Regions from separate parts of the Homo sapiens genome. Here regions 1 and 3 are each linked to region 2. The links are contacts of gene promoters, found by promoter capture Hi-C in human tissues and cell types (Jung and others, 2019). All regions are on one chromosome and are shown on one strand. The core of a region is centred on a gene start or on the middle of the fragment in contact, and the rest is flanking DNA. Distances in the headings are between cores, read along the strand shown.

Region 1 (4,508 bases), core at 1,630-4,129, 50 kb before region 2:
GGGGACCCTTAACACTCATAACAGAACTTAAGTTGGGAATGCTAAGGAGTGTGATCAGCGTAAAGTGGCAGTTGTTTCTCACATGGGGTATTAGCTGGATGCAGTCCAAGAAGAAAGGGGTTGCCAGAAACATCCCCAGGGGAGGATGGGTTGGGTTGGCCAGGTAAATCAGGAATATAGGGTTTCTTCCTATTGAGCAACACCCACCTTCTCCCTAAACAGAGAAAGCTCAGCCTAGTTAGTGGAGGGCTCTTTTCTTATCTGCTTCCTTGGAAGTATTGTGGGAAGCAGGTTTATAAGAGGAGGTAAAAAATCAGAGTTCTACATGGGGCACATAGAGGAAGTATTTCAGGCTAATCATTTTGGGTTGCTGTTTTAGAATAATATGATTTTTTCCCCCTTTGGAGATAAAGTTGCTTTAAATTGTTTTTTGCAGGGCAGGTGAGGGAGTGGCTTTAGCTTGGTCCACTCTTATCTGATCCACTTTGGAATCCACAGACCATATTTGCTGTTCAGAATCTAGCATTTGATCGTGGTTTCATTTAGCACTGAAGTTTTGGGATATTCTTTGAGGAGAGGTTTTGAACATATGTTTTTCCCCAAAATACTGTTTTGAATAGTTGTGTGAATAATTGGACTCAATGTTCATATATTTCTAATCTCTTCAGGGCCAAACTCTTAAAAACAGAGTGTACTGCCACGTAACATCTCATGATACTGCTTGTTCCTAAATTGGTTATACATATGCATTCTATATTATATAAAGTACCTGTAATATATGCATATGAGACAGTTATATAATACATTGTGCATGTGTGATGTATTCAGTATTGATATAGATATATAATGCATACTCTGTACATTAATGTATGCAGCTGCCATTTATTGTATATTGTGGGACAGCAAGCAATAAAAAGACTACTATATACTCAGTAAGACTTAGGGTTATATATATCAGTGATTACATATTCTAAAGTTTAAATCAAATTAAACTTTAATTTGGCAGCCACTCACGGTAAAACTCTTCCCTACTCACTATTTGGCATATCCATAAGTTCAAGACAAAATTATGAAAAATTAAATAAAATCAGCCAATTCCCAACTTATAAAAGGGTTATGTTCCAAAAGTTTCTTTTAAATATTTGTTCTATAGGAACACATTCCCATAAAAATGATCATATATGATGGTTAGTTTCTCTGACTAGTCAACAAAAGTTCAATTAAACCATAATGACTTTCACAATAACTGTAGCCTGATTTCTGGGGCCTGTAGAAAGGAGCCATGCAGTAATAGAGATGAGAAGGAAGTAGGGTCTTTTGTTTTTATGAAGCAGAACAAAACCCAGGCAAAATATTTTAAAACAAGAACAATTTATATTTGGCCAGTGCCAGCTTCCTTTTCTGCACCCTTCTCCCAAGGAACCAGGACTCCCATGCTATCTTTAATGCTTCCCACCTTGTGGTTTCCCACTCAAGTCTAACATATTCCTAATGTGCTCCATGCTCTAGAATTACCCACCCCACTCACTATATTAGTGACTTAGGAAGTATGGTCCTTCCATTAACTTGCATTGGAATCACCGGTGGTGCTTGTTCAATACAGATTTCTGGATCCTACTGTAGACTTACTGAATCAAAATATCTGAGGGTGAGGTGGGGCCTGCAAATCTATCTGGATTTGTAACAAACTCCTTGAGTCACTTATGAACATTTAGATTGTGTGCCTCTGAAATGAAATCTCTCATTTCATCAGAAGAGGTAATGTTGTAAATTAGTGTTTCTCAAACTTTGGCATGCATCAGAATCCTCTGGTGGGCTTATTAAAACACAGATTGCTGGGCTCTCATCCCCTGAGTTTCTGGTTCATTTCAACCTAACGGATCTCAGACAGTGGAGCATTGCAAAATGCAAATGAGAAGTGAAGGGTTAGAAATGTTGGGTAGAGGCTGAAGCGTGTGTGTCTGTGTGTGTGTGTGTGTGTGTGTGTGTGTGTGTGTGTGTGTGTTGGGGTGATTGGGCATCTGAGATCTATCTAACTAGGAGTCTGACTTTTTTTTCCCTCCCAAGTCAAAGCCTGTTTTTCACAGCTTTTTTCTAATTCTCTCTAATCTTAAATCTTCCCCTATTAGTTCCAAGAGCAGTGATACTAAGAGGATAAACTGGGTGAGGAGAGGGCAGGCATTGTGCTCCATTTATTTAAATTTTCTGAAATTAGAATTTTACTTTGGACAGCAGGGGGCTCTCCTAACATTGTATAATGTGAAAGAGAGAAAAAAGTGATCCTTTAACCTGAAAAGACTAGAGTGACAAAATTTGCAATTAGGGAGTTCCTACATATTTGATTATCAGGTTTTCCCAGAAATTATAGTAATATTTAATATACTACAAATATTGGTAAATAGATAAGAACTATACATACTGGTAAACAGATATTATATCTTTTGGTAAATAGATAAGAACAATTTGTTAAACAAATGGAGGCTTAGAAGTTTGAATCTTTACTGTAGATGTTGGCTAATAAAATTTGTAGTGTGATAATTGCCAGATGCATGGGGCAGAGATGTGAGAATTAGTGAGTTTTTAAAAGAGACTATTCCAGACTCAAAGATTTTTGTTTGTTGTGTTTATTTATTTATTTTTGAGACAAGGTTTTACTCTGTCGCCCAGGCTGGAGTGCAGTGGTTGGATCGTGTGATCCTCCCACCTCAGCCTCCTGAGTAGCTAGGACTATAGGCATGCTTCACCACATCTAGCTAATTTTTGCATTTTTTGTAGAGACCGGGATCTTACTCTATTGCCCAGGGCGATTCACCCACCTTGGCCTCCCAGTGTTGGGAATATAGCCATGAGCAGCTGCGTCCAGATGTTTTATTTTCTAGACCAAGAAGCCTTCGTTCAGAGTTAATATTTCATAGGTAAGTTTTTTTTTATTGTAGATGAGGTTACGAAGTGAAATTCCCAATTGTCTCTATAAAATCGTTCTATAGTTCTGCCTTTTATTCATCTTGACAGAGTGAGGGAGCTTTCAAGGCAAATCAGGCTGTTTAAATAGACAATGATATTGCTCAGAGATTAGTTACTTGTGGGATCCTAGAGACACAGTGAATACCACATTGAGAAGATGACATATTTCCTCACCATTCCAAAGAAACTAGTTCCTAAAAAATAAAAGTTTGGTTTAGTAAAGAATGGAATCAAGGCCAGTTTCATGGGCCTGTGACTTGGACACTCAGACAGGGCCCTGTGCTTAGAGGAACCCCACGCTTGGTTTAATGCTTGCCTCTCGTCATCTTGAATTCTTAGTAATTTTGAAACAAGGGGACCCATATTTTCATTTTGCACTGGGCCCTGAAAATCATGCAGCTGGTCCTGAATGGAATAGATGATTGTCTTCGATACTCCTGTTGACTTTTCTTTAAAGAGGTCATTCTCAGCCTTAGATGCACTTTAGAATCACCTGGTGAGATTTTAAAATCCTTAATGTCCAGGCTGCCCCCAGACCGATTATGTCACAATCTTCATGGGTGGGTAGAGGGCATTGGTATTTTAAAAAATTCCTCATGTGATTCCAGTGTGCAGCCCAGGTTGAGAACCACTGTACATTTGGAGCCTAGCTTCTAGAACCTTCCTTCCATACTAATCTTTCCTGCTTGAATTATTCTTGCAGTTTAATGGGTTTGTAAGATTTTAGATTCTTCACACAGGCTTATGTGTTACAAGAATAAAAATGTATAGAATTTGAATTCTTTATATGATATGTTTTATTTTTATTACTATTAAAGATTGTGGCATTGCAAAGAATCTTAAATATGGATATAATCACCCTTGTAGTCCCTTTAAAGTAGCAAATTAATGTACCCTAGAAAGAAAAACCTCAGATATTTAGTGAAATTAAAACTGAACAGGGAAATAAATAGATTTTCTTCCCTTTTGCTAATGGCTGAATATTCACTAAGAAGCTTGCCCTGGCTGGGCCTGCTTCAGGTTTCATTAAATACCTCTTTTCTATCTGAAGGGTTTTTGGGGCACTAATTGTTTTTTCCTTTTGAGTCACCTGTGGGCTTTGGCAATAATCTAGAAGCGTCTGGTCTCAATCCTTCTGGATTACAGGAATTGAAGGCCCCAATTAGAGACCTGGGGTCCTGCAAGGGCAAATCCTTTTAACCTTAATTCACTGGGGGCCTCCTCTGAACAGAAGCTGTTTTTCTGCCTTCAACCTTACAAAACAGCACAAAAGGAATTGCTTTTTACTTAGTGTGTCTTCCTAAAGTTATGTATACGTACAGGTAATTTAGGGATTAATTCCAACCCTAGATATTTTATGAGGCAATAATTATATTAAATTATATTAAATCTTTCCACTTGTTTAGCTTTAAATTGGGCACTGAACAGAGAAATAGTAACTTCATTGCAAAGTCATTAGATGTTTAATGAAAATATTTGTAAGCTGGAACCCAAAGGTAGATGAAAAACAAAATCATCTTTTGGCTCTTGGAGCTTAGACATTC
Region 2 (4,389 bases), core at 248-2,747:
TCGGCCCGACCTAAAGGCAAAAAGGATTGTAAGGAGCATTTGGGCCTGGGGGATGAGGCCGGGCTCTTCCGCAAAATGTTTGGCTAATCGAGATCCACACTCCGGGAAACGAAAAGCCTCGGCCCACGGACTAGTTTGCTGTTTTGAGACAAGAGTGGCAGGCAGCGCATGGGAAGAGGAAAACTCGACTTCCCATTTCTCAAAAGTCCATTGAAAACTGTTTTCAAAGCATTAGGGAGGGATATACCTGGGCTTTGAAAATGATAATTAACATGAAACCGACACATTGCTAATAAGCCAGGCTTCGATTAATAGTAGGAGCCTGTGCCCAGGCTGACAAGAATTAGCTTTGGGTCTTGGGGTCCCTAACTGTTTGTAGGATTTTAATTTTTTATTTCTCTTCCCCTCTCCGTCCCAGTGAAGCCTTGGTTTGGTGACCGGGACCAGCTGCTGCAGCTGCCCGCAGGCGTGGGGAGCCAGCGGGTGGGGAAGCAGAGCCGGCAAGGGAACTCCCGGCCAGGAGCCCAGAACGCAGGGCTCTTAACCCAAGACAGACCGCGCTCCCAACTCCTGCTGAATTGGAGTCGCCAGGGACTGGGTAAGGGCGCCAGAGGTGCCTCCACCCGCCTCCTCCCCGGTGCGCTCAAAGCGCGGAGGCCTCTAGGTACCGACCTGTTCTTGGCTGCAGCCGCTCGGTCCCTTTGTCGGCGGTTTTTGAACCAGTTGCCCACCTGCGTAGGGGTCAGTCCGGTTGCCTGGGCGAGCTCACGTTTTTTGCTGGGGTTAGGGTATGGATCCTGCAGGTACCACTCGCGTAGCAGGTGCCGCGTGCGCTCCTTGAAGCAGTGTGTCTTCTGTTCGCCGTCCCAAATGGTGCGCGGCAGCGGGAACTTCTTCCTTACTCGGTACTTGTCCACAGGTCCCAGGGGTCTTCCACGCAGCTTCTCAGCCTCCTGGTAGTGTGCTTCAAGCCACAGCGCCTGCAGCTTGGCGTGCGACTCCTTGGTGAACTTGTGGTTTTCCAGGATATGATAGAGCTCGCGGTAGTTGCCACCGTGAAAGGCCACGATGGCTCGTGCGCGTAGCACCGACTCATTCTTGTTGAGGGCCTCGCAGGCCGCAGGGGCCACGGGCAGCGACCAGAGGAAGCGACCCAGGCGCTCCACATCGCCGCTCTCTTCCAGGGTCTCACATACCCCGGCCACTTGCTGGGGGCTGAAATTCAAGATGGGCAGCTGGAACATCGAGGCAGTGCCGGCGGCGGCGAGGGCACTGAGCCCGGAGCGGGACACGCAGCAGATGCCCGCGGGCCTGGCTGAGTGTGCCAGGCGCTTGTTGATGAGGCGGATTGGGGCAGCGGGACACACTACCGGGTGGCGGCGGTGGCTCAACGGCCGGGAGCGGACGACCCCGACTGGAGGAGGTGCTGGCTCCGCGGCTTGGGGTTCGGGCTCGGCTCGGCTCAGGCACGCCGGCAGGCGAGCTGGCTCCGCTATTGGGGTGGGCGGATTGGCGGCGCGGGCGCCATGGAGACCCCCTGTCAGTCACCGGGTGGCTCTGCCAATCAAAGCTTGAATCAGCACGCCAGGACTATTTCAGCACCTCCCCGTGCTCGACAGCGCCCGCCGTTAGCTCCTGGACTTTTCTTCAGTATTTTGCAGAACCTGGAGGTTGAAAAGACATGCGAGTGTCTGGGAGAAAAAGAGAGGCGAGTGCGGCAGCGTTCACTACTCCTCCCTCCCCCACCCCGCTCTACCCCTCCCTCCCTTTTTCCCACCAAATAGGCAGTGATGCCACAGGAATTCAGGAATTCACTTTGGGGCGATGCGTTGTCTCGGTCGAGAGGTCTCCAGAGGACAAAGAGGACTGGGCCAAACTGAAATGCTCCGAGAATTCGCAAGTTTAGTTGTAACGAAACAGCAAACCTTGCGGTGGGAGCAGGAAGCCGGTGGGGGGAAGCGATCTTCTCATTTTTCCCAAGTACCCATCTCTGCATGCCTCCCTCTTCCCCTTTCCAGTTGCCAAAGCAGCTGAGTGGGAAGCAAATCTGGAGCAGCAGGAACAGGACCAGGGATCTGTAGAAGAGGTCAGTTTGAACTCTAGCCTTACTCCCTTCAAAGCCCACTAAAATAATTTTAAATGCCAACAAGGACATGTTCACGTCTGATAACGCAGATGCAGACCACGAAGTCAGACACTTTAAGAAAAGAAGGGTGGGCTGTAGGGACCTCCAAATAAAGGGGGAGAAATATACTTTCTCCCCCTCCCCCAGTTTAATGGACTTGAACAAAGTGCAGCATAGCCACATCTAGAGCCGAGAAGTCATTGGTAGGTCAGGACAGCAACTTAAAAGCTTATTTCCTAGATCTTTTTTAAAATATCGACTTAACTCCTTTCCTTGTAGGCTTATTTTGCCCCTACCTTGTGTTAGAACTTATACCTCTTGAGCTGGGGATAACAACTCTAACCTTGGCATTTTAGCTCAAAAACAATTCAGTAAAAATACAATACAGAAGGGCATCCACGACAATGCGGGGGCCCAGAAAGCACTTCCTAAGCCGCTGATTATTGACCCCTCCTGTAGTGAGGAAGGAGTGGCTTGGTGGCTCTGACTTTGGGCTAGTGGAGTGAATTGGCAACTTTTATTGATTCCCAATTGGCAGTCCACATCATACCATTTTCTGAGGCCTGGGTCAAAGAAACCATGATCTCATCTGGGCCTGTGGTAGGGGTTTGTTTAGTTTGAAGAAAATAACTGGTAGGGGGCTGTATAACAAAAACGCCAGGAAAACCGTTTTGGGGAGGTCCATCCCTAGACAGAAATCAGGTGAGAACGTTCACAGCCGAACTGGACTGGACCCGACTGTCTTTTCTTTAGTATCAAGTACAATTTGTATGCGGCTTGTACAGATCTGGTAAATCAGAAGGCAGATAGATAGCACAGATGGTTGGAGGTGTCGGGTCAGATCACGCCACGCCTGAGTGCAGGGCAAAGCTCGTTCTGACGGAAAACCCTGATATTATTTTCACAGATCTTCACAGTTCACTCGAAAAAAATAGCAGAGGGGAAGAAAAAAGCCCTGAAACCATTTACATCATTTCTGTGAGATTGCCAACCGCCTCAACGGAGAGGCTTTCTTTTCTAAGAGTTCATTTTCTTGAAATACGACAAGGCAGGGGCAAAATAAAGAGGGCGATGAAGATAATGACAAAGCATAAACCTTCTTTCCCTTGGAGCGACTTCCGAATCAGCCGGAAGGACAACTTTTAGAAAGAAACATCGGATACAAGGGCCCCGAACACGCAGGCGGAGGAGAATCCGCGGTGCAGAAAAAGAGGGCCTCGGTGGCCGGGCAGGGATGAAGCCGGACCCGGGAGGGCTGCGATCCCGGAGCTTCTGGCCAGGGGAGGAAAGCACCCCCTTGCTCCAGTTTGCAGAGGTTTATTTTCCCTCTCGGGGTGGTTACTTTGCCGGCTATTGCTCGCGAAATTGCTTGGCGCTCACCCTTAGCGCGCAGAAGAGGCGGTGGGGTCCGCGGAGACCTTACAGCCCGCGAGCCGAGCCGAGAGCCGACCCCGATCCCAGCGCCTAGCTGCTGAGGTGGGAGAGGTTGTCCATGCCCCAGGAGACCACACGTCTCCCTCTCGCCCTTTTACTGGACAGTTTGGAAGCGGCACATTCGGGGAGAGCTGGTTTCTTACCCTTAATCTTTGTGAGCAAGTGGACAGTCTAGGGGCCCCATCCAGGAAATGGGAATATTTATCCCATGGCCCATTTCTTGGATAATAGTTCTGCAAATAATTAGATGAGGGCGCTTTAGCTTCTGCGTGTCTGAGGCTCGCGGGCAACTGGAACTGAGAGTCTGAGTTGGCCTCGCGGGAGCCGCCAGAAGGGTGCGGGCTGCGTGTGGCAGAGTAGGAGCACTGTCTGGTGGCTTGGCAGGAAGGGACTGAGAAGTGCCTGGAGGTTGGGGACTACTATCAGGAGATCCATCTTCGCCATCGCAAGGGACTTGATTTAATTTTATTAACCCAAAGGAAATAGACTGCGCCAGGGCACCTTGGAATCACTTATTTGTTCACCAGCTTCACAAGGGGAAGGGACGAACAGGAAGAAGTATGTGAGCCGAGCCCCCTGGGAAAGAGGGAAGCTCCACGGGATTCCTTAGGAATAACCCTCTTTTGGGGAAGGCGGTGACCCTCACCCCACCTTTAAGGTGTACTTCTCCCAAGTTTGCCAGACGAAAGCTGTGACTTCGGGCTGGCTTTTCTTAATTTTACAGAAGGGTATATATTTTTTTCTTTTACCAGTTTTGAGGTTTTGTGCCAACCCTCCAGGCAACCCCTCACTTCTTATCCCACATTTCATTTTTCTTTTGCATTTGACCG
Region 3 (4,627 bases), core at 732-3,231, 42 kb after region 2:
CATTAAGTATGAGGTACCAAATAACAGTAATATCATTTTAGTAAACAGAAGAAAGTAGATGCCATTTCCTTTAAAATATATGGTAACTGTCCTTAATGTAAGGAATCAATGTCTACTTTGCTTATAATTATCTGTTTTTAAAAAGATGGGAGTTTGTTAAAATCTACATTTGCCAATGGAATTGTAAGGAAAAGTTAAACGGGTGTGATTTATTGTTAATTTTGTTTTTGTTTTAATAACTGTAAATAGAAGATAGTAAATGCTATCAAAAATATGAATCTTATGATTATATAGAAAAAACATAAGATAAAGCATATCTTTTTTTACTGCTTTGCAAGTAATTATTTTGTTTTGTGTTCCCAATTGTCTTTTTAGCAGATATCTAGGCATAATGAAACTAAGGCTCTTTCAGAAACTCTGGAAGAAAAGAACAAAAATACAGAAAACAGAAAAGAACTGAAAGAAAGGTATAGGTAACCTTTAAAATTAAATTTTATGTGAACAGATATTTTGCATCTAAAAGTTTGATTCTATATTCCATCCCAAACCACTAATATTTACACAGTATCTGTAAATTTTGTTGTGCAGGCTATTTTCTATTAATTTCTTATGAAAAATATTATTAAATATTATGAGCTAATACTAAAATCTGCTTGTTATTTAGTAAGGCTGAGGATAATGTGTAAAGAGAAATAGAGTAGCAGCAGCACATCTGCTGTTCTAGAACCTGTCAGTTGTATAATTCATCCAGTGTTTTCCATGATGGGCCAGCAATAGGAGTAAAACAGAAACAATGGTGGGAATAGCAAGGTATTTACTTTTTTATCACCCTGTCCACCTTGACCAGTTCTTCCTTTGCTATAGAGTGAAGATGAGTCAAAGCATGCTACTAAATGTGTGGCATCATATTTCCTTGTCTTTTGTTTTAATGGCGATAAAATAGAGATCAGTGATAGAGGCCAAAAAAAAAAATAGATGGACTTTGCCTGTTATCATATGACAGAAAAATAGATGTATTACTATTGCTATTTCTGACCAGCTTTTACTTTTTCCCCCTACTTATATCCTTTTTCATTCTTCTGAAACTCCTTTCCTCAAGTTCCATGGCCCTTAATCTGATTTTTCAACACATTCTTCTGTCGGGTTAATTTCCCTGATCCTACTTTTTTTGGATGTGTTATTTTCTTGATTCCTCCACTCCCATGTACCACATTCAGTGCAAGTGTGTCTTTAATTTTATAATGAAGTTAATTGAAAAAATAGGTAAATAGACAGAATTTTACTTTATTGACCGCCTTTAAGAAAAATTCCATGTATTGACAGAAACATATAAATATTTAGTCATTTTTAACTCAATATATATTCTGACACTGTTTATTCTATTTCTTCAATTTAGATAAAATTTAGTGAAAACTATTCTTTCAGTAAAAAACTTAAAAGACCCATTTATGATTATAATACTGTTTTAACAATTTCTGTATTCATGTTGGTTGATTTATTTCTGAATATGTCTTTTTAAAGTTTAAAGTACCATGAAATCTGAAGCATGCTATTTGTAGTTACAAGTTTTGGCTTAAAATGTTTTTGACATGTGTAGGAAGTCTTTTGCAATGATTATATTTTAAAAATAAGAGTGGACTATATTGAGAAGAGCATTGAACTTAATCAGGGGAAGTGTGTTTTTGCTCTGACACCACTACTAAGTAATTCAGTCATTTTGGGCAAGTCTATTAAATTCTTTGGAACTCAGTTTTATTATCTGCAAAACGAGGGGTTTTATTATATAGTATCTAAATATGCCTCCTAGCTTTAAAATATGTTAATTTTAACTTATCTAATATTTAATGTAATTCACCTTTCTCTTTAGAATTTTTGGAAAAGATGAGCATGTACTTACATTGAATAAAACTCAAAGCAGTCAATTATTTCTTCCTTATGAATCTCAGAAATTAGTAAGACCAATAAAGATGCATTCTTCAGAACCAAGAGTTGCAGGTATAATATCTGTTTGTTATTCAAAAACATCATTTTTTTTGCAAACACACAGAAGAAATAGAAGGAAGCAATTTTATTTATCATTTGGTGTAAGTAAAAACAATACTGGAGACCTATAAACTCAAGAGAGTACTGCTTTGAATCTTTCTGAGAGCAAACAAAATATGTCTTCTATACGTAACTTTTTTCTCTTTGAGAAAGGAATTATTCACACAATAAATTTCAAAAAAAGTGTTCTGGCCTGGTTGCACAGCTGTTAGAGGAGGAGGAAAAATTACATATTTTTCATTTGAGGAGTTGATTATCAATATGTGTGACTTAGGCAGGTAAAAGACTTATGCTAATAGTATCTATAACTTAGTCACTGAGATATTTGAATCAAGTTTCATTCAGTGGCTCTGCAGATTAAATTAACTATTAGGTTGGTGCAAAAGTAATCATGGTTTTTGCCATTGCGTTTAATTAAAATTTAATGGCATTTACCATTACATAATGGTTTTGGCATTAAAAGTAATGGCAAAAATCATGATTACTTTTGCACCAACCTAATACATTATATTAGATTAACTACATTGGCTGGTTTCTTTGTCTTCTCAACCACTCTGTCTTCTTTGGTAACCCATTATAAAGGTACAGTTTTGTCAGTTGGCCTTTTGTCATTTCATCTTCATAGTTATTGTAAAGCTATTATATAGTAAGGAATTAAGAGTTTTAAAATAATTTCATAATTCCGTATTTTAATTTAAATTAAAAATTCATGTAGACTTGATTTTCTAAATTACAAGTTTAGGTTAAACATTGGGGAAGATACTTGATTCTGTTTCCAGCATTGATTTAAAGTAGTACTATTTAATAATCTAGATATAAAAGAAGAAAGTTCTGCGAAGCAGTCAAAGCTTGCCAATATTGACTTTAGACAAAAAGAAAATGATACACAGGTAGGTGTCTCACTTTTAGTAGTATAAATTAAATACCTGCTTGCATTAAATGTAATAATGAATGTACTGCCCTTAAGACACAGACGTGTGTGTGTGTGTGTGTGTGTGTGTGTGTGTGTGTGTGTGTTATAAATTTATTAAATCAGCCATTAGTGCAAACTCAAGGTCTAAAAAATTTAAAGGTGTTTCAATATGGCATTCTGATTATATACTGTAACCTGTCCCCTTATCCCTAAAAATAATAGAAAAAGATATTTTCAAATACCAAGCTCTGTACATAGTAGATCCAAAACTGTGAGAAATCCCTGAAGGAAAATAGCAGGATTGGATTGAAGAGGGAAATTATTGCCCAGGACATGCATAGGAGAATACCGTTCTACAAGATAAAGGTATACGGATGATGAGTAAGGTAATTGGTTGCGTTACCTCAGTGGTAGTTAGTTTACTTAACCCCCTGTTCATCTTATATCCACTGTATCTTTGGCCAGGCATCAGCAATGGAATGACTGTCTCCAGGTGGAAGCAGTGAATATGGAAGTTTAGGTGAGAGAGATAGGCAGGTCCCCTGGGTGGTTCTTGATGCCCATGAAGAACAAGGAGCATACCACCCAGAGAGCTAACTGCTGGTGGCACACTTTTTTATCTTTCCCCATTCTTCCTGAAAATAGTCCAGAGGGAAAGCCTCAATGAAAAATATAATTGTTCTTCCACTGGTAGTGGTGACCAAAGTAATTAGTGAAACTCAAGTGTAAATATGTATAACTTATAAAAATTTTTAAATCTGGTACTGAAATTCCAGATGATGTCAATATGTGATAAGGGTGGAAAGATAAATGAGAAAAATAAAAGTTTACCAGAGTTCTATTTTTTATTTAAGGATAGAGGTAGGGAGAAGATATGAACGCTGATGAACTCTATACATTGTTGGAAAAATGTAAATTTATGCATACATATTAAACATTTAAGGGTAACCACCAGAAGAGAAATGGAATGTGTTAGTTTTAAAACAGTAGAAGAAAAAAGATAAGGCAAAATTAATTAGACCAACAAAGACAGTAATGGGGGTAAAAATAAAACAGTTAGAAAGCATTGTAAATAGAAAACGAATAAGGTGCCAGAAATAGTTCTGAACAAATTAGTAACCACAAAAATGTGACTGGTTTAAACTCCCATTAAAAGACAGAACTACTTCTATGGGATATATAAACAAATACAGGTATATGCTATTAAAGCAGAAGAGCGGAAACAACTTGACATTGAGGCTGAAAAAAAGAAGAAAATATATCAGGCAAATGCAAACGAAAACAAGGCAGATGTAACAATGTTGTACGAAATAGAGTTCAGGGTGAAAAGCATTAATGGGGTAAATATATTTCATATTTTTAAAAAGAACAATTTACCAAGAAATTATAAAAACCACAATACACTAAATTATTTCAAGTTTCAAAATATGTAAAGCAGAGTTTGACAGACTTTCAAAGAAATGGTTGAATACACAGTTAAAACAAGAAGCTGAATATAGCTCTCTCCAAAAAGAGTACTGATTGTGAGTTTAGGAGTTGAGTTTGGCTACATGTGAAATAATACAAAACCAAACCAGTGAAATAATAGCATCTTAAACAAGATAAACGTTTGTTTTTCTCTTACTTGCCATAAAATTCTAAAGTAGGTCATTCAGATTCAGGACTGATAGC

The links. Contacts are between HindIII fragments. The study calls those that stand out against the background at their distance.
Region 1: a fragment that was not itself captured here is called in contact with the fragment with the promoter of SIX6 in region 2 in 4 of the 25 tissues and cell types used here (H1 embryonic stem cells, lymphoblastoid cells, neural progenitor cells and 1 more).
Region 3: a contact is called between a fragment that was not itself captured here and the fragment with the promoter of SIX6 in region 2, in 2 of the 25 tissues and cell types used here (dorsolateral prefrontal cortex and psoas muscle).

What each region holds. Positions count from the first base shown.
Region 1 is chr14:60,557,299-60,561,806 of GRCh38, reverse strand. No RefSeq gene overlaps it. Among named protein-coding and RNA genes, the nearest start is that of SIX6, 50 kb to the right of the region's middle. The HindIII fragment of the contact is 7,153 bases long and covers 1-4,508 here.
Region 2 is chr14:60,506,254-60,510,642 of GRCh38, reverse strand. SIX6 (SIX homeobox 6) reads right to left here and starts at 1,497. Exons shown (of 2, transcript NM_007374.3): 1 at 673-1,497. The coding sequence starts at 1,244. It also overlaps a transcript of C14orf39 not described here. The HindIII fragment of the contact is 5,424 bases long and covers 1-4,389 here.
Region 3 is chr14:60,464,285-60,468,911 of GRCh38, reverse strand. It overlaps C14orf39 (chromosome 14 open reading frame 39), which reads left to right. Exons shown (of 18, transcript NM_174978.3): 9 at 376-467; 10 at 1,868-1,995; 11 at 2,857-2,933. Among named protein-coding and RNA genes, the nearest start is that of C14orf39, 19 kb to the left of the region's middle. The HindIII fragment of the contact is 6,931 bases long and covers 1-4,627 here.